Linked DNA regions of Homo sapiens: region 1 is linked to region 2. Evidence: promoter capture Hi-C in human tissues and cell types (Jung and others, 2019). All regions are on one chromosome and are shown on one strand. Each heading gives the region's core, a stretch centred on a gene start or on the middle of the fragment in contact. The rest is flanking DNA. Distances are from core to core; before and after follow the strand shown. Region 1 has its middle 260 kb from the start of MBNL1-AS1. Region 2 holds the start of P2RY1 (purinergic receptor P2Y1).

The links. Contacts are between HindIII fragments. The study calls those that stand out against the background at their distance.
Region 1: a fragment that was not itself captured here is called in contact with the fragment with the promoter of P2RY1 in region 2 in 1 of the 25 tissues and cell types used here (heart right ventricle).

What each region holds. Positions count from the first base shown.
Region 1 is chr3:152,531,558-152,536,356 of GRCh38, reverse strand. No RefSeq gene overlaps it. Among named protein-coding and RNA genes, the nearest start is that of MBNL1-AS1, 260 kb to the right of the region's middle. The HindIII fragment of the contact is 4,058 bases long and covers 1-4,048 here.
Region 2 is chr3:152,833,080-152,838,225 of GRCh38, reverse strand. It overlaps P2RY1 (purinergic receptor P2Y1), which reads right to left and starts at 3,095. Exons shown (of 1, transcript NM_002563.5): 1 at 1-3,095. The coding sequence starts at 2,443. The coding sequence ends at 1,322. RefSeq lists silencers at 2,132-2,426, 3,139-3,188 and an enhancer at 2,859-2,958. The HindIII fragment of the contact is 5,667 bases long and covers 1-5,146 here.

The sequences.
Region 1 (4,799 bases), core at 770-3,269, 300 kb after region 2:
AAGAAGAACATCCCCAAGACACATAATCATCAGATTCTCCAAGATTGAAATAAAAGAAAAAAATGTTAAAAGCAGCTAGACAGAAGGGTTAGGTTATCTACCAAGGGAAGCCCATCAGACTAACAAGTGAACCACTTAGGAGAAACCCTACCAGCCAGAAGAGATTGAGGGCCAATATTCAACATTCTTAAGGAAAAGAAATTGCAACCTAGAATTTCATTTCTGGCCAAACTAAGCTTCATAAGTAAGGAAAAATAAGATCCTTTTCAGACAAGCAAATACTAAAGGAATTCACTACCACCTGACCTGCCTTACAAGAGCTGAAAGAAGCACTAAACATGGAAGGAAAAGATGTACCAGCCACTACCATAACACACTGAAATTCACAGACCAGTAACACTATGAAGCAACCACATATACGAGTCTGCAAAATAGCCAGCTAACATCATGATGACAGGATCAGATTCACACATATCAATACTAACCTTGAATGTAAATGGGCTAAATGACCCAATTAAAAGACACAGAGTGGAAAGTTGGATAATGAAGACCCACTGGTATGCTGTCTTCGAGAGATTCATCTCACATAGGCTCAAAATAAAGGGATGGAGAAAAATCTACCAAGCAAATGGATAATAGAAAAAAAGCAGGGGTTGCAATCCTAGTTTCAGACAAAATAGACTTTAAACCAACAAAGATCAAATAAGGCAAAGTGCATTACATAATGGTAAAGGGTTCAATTCAACAAGATGATCTATCATAAATACATATTCACCCAACACAGGAGCACCCAAATTCATAAAGAAAGTTCTTAGAGACCTTCAAAGAGATTTAGACTCCCACATAATGGCAGTGGGAGAATTTAACATCCCACTGACAATATTAGATAGAGTATCAAGACAGAAAATTAGTGAAGATATTCAGCACCTAAACTCAGCACTGGATCAAGTGGACCTGATAGACATCTACAGTACTCACCACTCAAAAACAATAGAATATACATTTTTCCCATTGCCACGTGGCACATATCCTAAAATATATCCCTGAAAAGAAATACGCAGCCTAGTTATAATATGGATTCATTGATCTTTTGAATGGTTTTTCATGTATCACATAATCAGAAGAAAACACTCCTCAGAAAATACAAAATAACTGAAAGATAACAAACAATCTCATGGGCCACAGCACAATGAATTCACTCAAAACCATACAATTACATGGAAATTGAATAACCTGCTCCTGAATGACTTTTAGATAAATAACAAAATTAAGGTAGAAGTCAGGAAGTTCTCTGAAACTAATGAGGACAAAGATAAGGCATACCAGAATCTCTGGGATACAGTTAAGGAAGTGTTCAGAGGGAAATTCATAGCAATAATGCCCACATTAAAAAGTTAGAAAGATCTCAAACTAACAACGTAAAATTGCAACTGAAAGAATTTAGAGAAACAAGAAAAAATCAACTCCAAAGCTAGCAGAAAAAAGAAATAACCAAAATCAGAGCTGAACTGAAGGAGACTGAACACGAAAAACTATTCAAAAGATCAATGAATCCATATTATAACTAGGCTGTGTATTTCTTTTCAGGGATTTTTCTACCTTCAGGGTTAGATATAGTTTAGTTACTATTACCATAGTCCACCCATAGTTTTACATATACAATTTCTTGTAGAAAAATAGATTTTTCCATTTTACAAAAGCATTTTAAATGTAGTTTGAATATTTTCCACAAGATGCTGCAATAGGTGTTATCACTTCATTTATCTTAAAGACAAAGCTAGTTGTCAGTTACATATGACAGGAAAAAAAAAACCACTGTGTAACTAGGTTAAGTGGTAAAATAATCCAGGTATCAGTCAAAGGCGTTTTGCTGACTTTAATATTTTTTAACAGGAATTTAAGAAAATGTTACTGGAATTAAATATCTATATAAATTTATATATAAATAAATATATATTTTGTGTGTGTATATATATATATATACACACACAAGAATTTTCTTTGCTCTGTGTAGCTTAAACTACTACTCAAGCCCCTGAAGTTCTTAAGTATTATTTCTAATCACCAATAAATAAATGTATTTGTAATTCATCAGTTTAAGTTATTATTAGCTTTCATTCAAAGAAGATTACATTTAACAATGTAACTATAATCTCTCTTGAATTTGGTATCTTATTAATGAGTTGTAAAAAATGTAAAATCTAATTTTTTTAAAGTTCCATTTTCTTTTGTTTTTAGAGACTTTCTTATCCGTAAACATATATCTTACATATAATAAACTTTTCAAATCTTGTAAAAAAATCAACAAATCAGGAGCTGTTTCTTTGAAAAAATAGTAAAATACATAGATTGCTAGCTAGGCTAATAAAGAACAACAGAGAGAAGATTCAAATAAACACAGTCAAAAATGACAAGATATTACCAATCACCCCACAGAAATACAACCATTGGGGAATATTATGAACACTTCTATGCACATAAACTAGAAACTCTAGAAGAAATGGATAAATTCCTGGACACATGCATTCTCCCAAGACTGAACAAGGAAGAAGCTGAATCCCTGAGCAGACCAATAATGAGCTCTGAAATTGATCAGTAGTAAATAGCCTACCAACCAAAAAAGGCCCAGAACCAGATGGAGTCATAGCTGAATTCTACCAGATGTACAAAGAAGAGCTGGTACCATTCCTGCTGAAACTATTCCAAAAAAATTGAGGAAGAGGGATTCCTCCCTTACTCATTCTATGAGGCCAGTATCATCCTGATACCAAAACCTGACAGAGACACAACATAAAAAGAAAGCTTCAGGCCAATATCTTTGGTGAACATCAATGCAAAAATTGTCAAAAAACACTTGCAAATTGAATCCAGCAGCATATCAAAAATTTTATCCACCACAATCAAGTAGGATTTATCCCTGAGATGCAAGGTTGGTTTGACATATGCAAATCAGTAAATGTAATTCATCACACTAAAGACAAAAACCACATGATTATCTCAATAGATGCAGAAAAGGCTTTTGATCATATTCAACACCTTTCATGTTAAAAACTTTCAATAAACTAGGTGTTGAAGGAACATACCTCAAAATAATAAGAGCCATCTATAACGAACCCACAGCCCACATCATACTAAATGGGCAAAAGCTAGGACCATTCCCCTTGAAAACTGGCACAAGGCAAGAATGCCCTCTCTCAGCACTCCTATTCAACATAGTATTGGAAGTCCTGGCCAGGGCAATGAGGCAAGAGAAGGAAATAAATGGCATCCAAATGGGAAGGGAGGAAGTCAACTATCTCTATTTGCAGATGACGTGATCCTGTATCTAGAAAACTCCATAGTCTCAGCCCAAAAGCTCCTCCTTCAGCTGATAAACAAGTTCAGCAAAGTTTCAGGATACAAAATCAATGTACAAAAAATCACTAGCATTCCTAACAACCAGCAACAGCCAAGCCAAGTGCCAAATCAGAAAGGCAATTTCATGTACAACTGCCACAAAAAGAATAAAATACCTAGGAATACAGCTAACCAGGGAGGTGAAAGAGCTCTACAAGGAGAACTACAAAATGCTGCCAAATGAATCAGAGATGACACAAACAAATGGAAAAACATTTCATGCTAATGGATAGGAAGAATCAATATCATTATGGCCATACTGTCCAAAGCAACCTATAGATTCAAGGTTGTTCCTATTAAACTACCATTGACATTCTTCACAGAACTAGAAAAAACTATTTTAAAATTCACAGGGAACCAAAATGATCACAAAATAGCCAAGACAATCCTAAGCAAAAGGAACAAAGCTGGAGGACTCATGCTACCCAACTTCAAACCATACTACAGGGATACAGTAACCAAAACAGCAGGATACTGTTACAAAAACAGAAACATAGACTAATAAAACAGAATGGAGAACCCAGAAATAAGGCCACACACCTACAACTATCTGATCTTTGATAAACCTGATAAAAACAAGCAATGAAGGAAGGATTCCTTATTCAATAAATGGTACTGGGATAACTGACTAGCCATATGCAGAAGATTGAAACAGGGCCCCTTCCTTACACCATATACAAAAATTAACTCAAGGTGGATTAAAGACTTAAATATAAAACCCAAAAGGATAAAAACCCTGGAAGACAACCTAGGCAATATCATTCTGAACATAAGAACTGGCAAAGATTTCATGACAAAGACACAAAAAGCAATTAAAACAAAAGCAAAAAAATGACAAAAGAGATCTAATTAAAGAGCTTCTGCACAGCAAAGGAAACTATTGACAAATTAAGCAGACAACCTACAGAAGGGGAGAAAATTTTTGCAAACTATGCATCTGACAAAGGTCTAATATCCAGCATCTATAGGGAACTTAAGCAAATTTACAAGAAAAAAAATCAACCTGATTAAAACATGGGCAAATGACATGAACAGACACTTTTCAAAAGAAGGCATACATGCAGCCAACAATCATATAAAAGAAAGCTCAGCATCACTGATCATTAGAGAAGTGAAAATCAAAACACAATGAGATACCATCTCACACCAATCAAAATGGCAATTATTAAAAAGTCAAAAAATAACAAATGCTGGTTAAGTTGCAGAGAAAAAGGAACAGTTATACAGTGTTGGTGGAGTGTAAATTAGTTCAACCATTGTGGAAGACAGTGTGGTAATTCCTAAAAGACCTAAAAATAGAAATACCTTCAACCCAGCAATCTAATTACAGGGTATATGCCCGAAGGAATATAAATTATTCTGTTATAAAGACACATGCACACATATGTTCATTGAAGCACTAT
Region 2 (5,146 bases), core at 1,846-4,345:
AGTAGTTTGAGTAGTACTTTACTTTTCAGTGCTATGGCATCTAGGTACTTTAATTCTCTATATTTCCCTCCATATATATGTTTTTTCTTTAAATATTGAGATGTAAGGTTTATTCAAAGATTATAGCTTCCCATTCTATCAATGCAACCTATACAAATTCTATTTCTTCTTTTCATATCGCATTTTGTGTTTTCAAACACTTGGAGGAAGCAAGAGTCTTCTCCACCATGACTTTAATTTAAACTAAAGCCCTCATTCTAAAATGTCTTCTGCCCACCCCAGTTGCTTCATACATTTGAGAGTATACTTGGAGGCTATGCCTTGTGGATGACTGTCAACCTCTCCTTTTCTGAAATACTGTCCTCCTGTCCAATATCCTTCAACTTACTAACAGTTATTTGACTTTACTCAATCTTTGGTCTGTAATTTATTTGCAATTCTTAAAATTGTTTTTACAGATGTGAGTGAACACTTGTCCTGGAACACAAACAAAGTCCTAAGGCATTGCACAGCAGTGGGGCAAGTAAATGCTCTTTATCACAAGATGTCTAAGAGAGCTCATGGTGTTTACAAGGAAAATACATGCACTTTAATTATTTTGAATGCATTTTACCAGTACGATAATATATGCAGGCTTTCCCCATCAAACATTTAGCACCCAATATATAATGAGACCTTTTCCAGAAATAACTGGAAAACAATCACTTTTCAGGCTTTTAAATTCATTAGCTTTACTTGTCTATTCAATGCCCTAAAGAAACTCAGTCAACTATCATCTATGCTTATAAGACACTGAAAAAAACACCCCGCTCAGAGATCCATTGATCTGATGCCGGATGAACTGATGAGTTTAGTGTTTTGTTATATACCATGCTAGATATTTCTGAGAATATAGATTTTTTATTCCTACTGTGGATTTTAAAAAAACAATAAAGGCTAGATAAACCACAAACTCAAGTTGCAGGGGGCTAGTTTTCTTAGAGAAATTACTAATATCAAAAACAGCCCCAGTACTCATGTGCACACACACTTTAAACAGAAAAGCCTGCACATTTTAAAGGCAAAAGAGAAAGTAAATGTTTAACTAGGTAGTATTGTTTTATTATACATACTTCTAGTCAGAAGGAAGAGAGACTGTGAAAGCAAACCCAAACAAGCTAAGTGTGGATGTGGGCATTTCTACTTCTATTATTTTTTTAACTCACTATTTTCTTGGTTTGATTTTTTTCTAAACTAGAAAGTTAAAGAGGGGAAAAGTACTTGATTCTGTTAAGCATCCTACCATATTACAACAGAGAGGTGTTTGGAGATTCTTGTGCCTTCACAGGCTTGTATCTCCATTCTGCTTGAACTCAGGTAAAATATTGAGGGTCATGTCTTCACTCTTGGATTGCAAATTTGCCTCACTTCTTCTAGAAGCTTTCCTTGTGGCTCGGGAGAGTCTCCTTCTGAAAGTATCTCCCGCCAAGAAATAGAGAATGGGGTCCACACAACTGTTGAGACTTGCTAGACCTCTTGTCACCTGATACGTGGCATAAACCCTGTCATTGAAAGCACACATTGCTGGGGTCTGAAAATCAAGCCGGGCCCTCAAGTTCATCGTTTTCATCACATGGAAAGGGATGTAAGACACAGCAAAAACAGTCAGTACAATGATTACCAGGTAAATCGATTTTCTCCTCAGAGGAGAGTTGTCCAGATCTTTGTAAATCAAAGCTCTCACAATTAATCCGTAACAGCCCAGAATCAGCACCAAGGGGACACAGAACATGGCCACGGTCGTGCACATGCTGTAGATGAAATAACTTCGCAGGTACTCGTCTGAGGTGGTGTCGTAACAGGTGATGGTTTTGTTTTTGCGGACCCCGGTACCTGAGTAGAAGAGGATGGGGGAGATCGCCACCACCACAATGAGCCACACCAGCACGCTGATACAGATCGCATTCTTCTTTTTGAGCCGGCCCAGGGACTTGAGGGGGTACACCACACCGCTGTACCGGTGGGCACTGATGCATGTCAGAAACAAGATGCTGCCATAGAGGTTCACATGAAAGATGAACCTCTGCAGTTTACACATGGCATCCCCGAAGATCCAGTCTGTTTTATTGAAGTAGTAGAAGATCAGGGCTGGCAGAGTCAGCACGTACAAGAAGTCGGCCAGAGCCAAATTGAACATGTACACGGAGATGCCGCTCCAGGGCTTCATGTGGAAGACGAACATCCAGATGGCCACGCTGTTGCCCAGGAAGCCGATGATGAATACCAAGATGTAGACAGCCGGCAGGTAGTAAAACTGGAAGCCCGTCTTGGTCAAGGCGCATTTGAACGACGAGGAGACGGCGGCAGTGGAGGCGACCGTGCTGTTCCCCCAGGACGAACCCGGACCGGCCAGGAAGGCAGCGTCCGTCCCGTTGGGGACAGCCGGCCACAGCACCTCGGTCATTCTCTCCTCCTCGACTTAGGCGGCGGCTCCGAGGGGTAGGAGGCGGCGAGAGGGCAGCGGCGGCCAGGGGCGCAGCAAGCATCGGAAAAGCCAGCGAGCGGAAGGGAGCAGGCGAACTGGATCCCCGCGGGAGGGGGCGCGCAGGGGCTCGCCCACGCCAGCTCTGGCCCCGCGTTCGCCGCGGGCCATGAAATCCGCCCCGGGCCGCCACCGAACTGGGCTATCGGGCAAGCCAGCAACTTCTCCGTCCGCTGGCAACGCCGAGCTTACACAACAGGGCGCGCAGGGAACCGCCGCGGATAACTTTCCGACTGCGCTTTCCCGAGGGGCCGCGGGTCCGCGCTGCAGAGCGCGCCAGAGGCGCAGCGAGGTCAAGGGAAACTCGCTCTGCAGGGCTCTAGCTTGGGGAGGCTGCTCCCCAGCCTCCTTGGCTCAAAGATCAACTTAATTGGGGGCATCTTCCTCCTCCCTACCTTAGAAACGTGCAGCTCAGTTTCGGGGCGTCTAACCGCTTCCTCCGCCCACCCTGAGCTCAGCTCCTGGCAGCCATCGGAGCGCGCGTGGCCGCAGACTCGTGCGCTTCTGCAGCGCGTCCCGTTCGGCGTCCGCGTAGTTCAGGAACCCCTTCCCCAGGCCCAGCTCTGTCCGGAGTGCCGGGGTTAGGCGGGAGAGCGGAGCTCCCTAGAGGGTGGGCGGAGTTTGGGCACCGGGGCGAGTCCGCACTCCGCGGGGAGGCGAGGGGCGTGCCTCCGCCGAGCTCGCCCAGCAGCCAGCCCGCGTCCTCCAGGGCGCAGTGGGAAGCAGGAGGCGTCTTCTGGGGAGCAGGTCTCCGCCGAGGCCGAGTGTGTTCAGCCTCTGCCGGCACGCTGCTACCGGAGTCGGCGGCGAGGGAGAGGGGTGCGCTCCAAGGTGGCTGCTGGCAGGCGATTGGCCCGCGAGCGCTCCTTCCCTCTTCCGCCAGCTATCTCGGCAAAGTGAAGTTGCTGACACACAGGAAACCCTTCCGACCGCTTAGAGCCTTCTGCCTACAACCCCAGAGCCGACCAGTCCGTAGCAGGAGCCTCTAGGGCCCTCGAGAACCACGCCAGGTGTTTTCAAGCTCCAAGCAGCCAGGAGTCCCTAGCTGGGAACGCCTGTCATTGCAGAGCGTCTAGCTTTGCCGGGACCGGATTTCTGGCACATGCAGGAACCTGCTATTCCAAGAGGGCGCGAGCCTCCAAAGGAATGAGGGTTGGGAGAGGAGTGGAGAACTCTGTTTCGCCCTTCTTACCTTTTTTTTTCTTTTTTTTAAATTCTAGTACTGTTTTTTCTTAATTACCCAAATGCTAATAAACCCACGTCATTAATAACATCAACGTGAGAATTTCCAAAATAGTCTTGTGAAGATATTACTAGTCCATATTGCACATTGCTTCAGCTCAAATTTGTCGTCATAGATACTTAACACCTATCAGACAAGACAAGCTCCCCAAATCCTCCTGTTCAGTACATTTAAAGATCAGAAGCTACAATGAAAAAAAAAAATTCGAAATTTATCCCTTTGAAAGTAATTTGAATGCCAAATGCAATACATTTATATTGATAGACGTAAAAGACGGTTATAATTCCAAAGTGACTAAGGTATGGTTTTGGTAGGGGGTGGCGGGGGGAGGGGGGTATTTCCAATTCTATTTCTTTAAGTTAAAGTGATTAGTTACAATTACCTCTAGTATCTTAAAAATACAGACTTGGGACTTCCTTAATTACTACATTTACTGACAAACTCGTTTTCTTGCCTTGAATGTAAATTTTAAGCAATGCACTTCAAAAATGTATTTGAGCAAGTTTAATTGGAAACTAAATGAAATATTAGCTGTTCAGGAACATATATAAATGGACCCGCACAAGAATGGAATCTAGCACTTCTTGACAAGTTACTAGTTAATGTATTTTTACATGACACATTAACAAAAGCTTTTCTCTTAGAGGAAAAAAAATCCAAAAAGAAAATATCTGTAAAATATATAACATCAAGATTTCTTTCTGGTCCCAGATGCTACATGATAGTGTTCCCTTAAAAAATAAAGGAAAACCACGAGCTCCTGGCTTTGATACCACAAAGGAAAATATCCCCCACAAGATCCAGATGGTTCTTTAGAGGAACACATATAGGAAGGAGCATATCTTAGCACATGGTATGAATACACTGGGTTTTGAATTGTAGTCAATTGAACAGCATAAAAATTAATAATAAAACAAGAGTAAATAATTCAAGTAAACAGTGTGAATGAGGTTGTCTTGAAAAGTCTTACTTTTTGTGTTTCCTTCCAATCTCCTGATTATATGAGTCTATGATTCTGAGCCTTAACATGAAACATTTGTGTATTGTTTGATTAGTATGGTCCTAGGTGGGATGATTGTCTATTAAGAGAGAAAAGGAAGCAAAGAAAACCATTAAGGGTTCCAGGGGTACTCAATAGGTCTTAAGTCCTCACTCCTTTGCATTTTTTATTTGCAACCTAGGCAATATCTGACTTCACTCAGAAGTTTGTTGCAAATGCATTAACTCATAATGTGAGTGTTTTGAAATGTACACTTAGTCCAGATACCATTAAGTACTTGCAGAAAACTGACACCTTACTAGGAATTGGGGGATAGTTGTTTTAAGTGCACCACAGACTTTTTAAAAAATGATGTTAAAAAATAAATTTTGGGCTGGGCGCT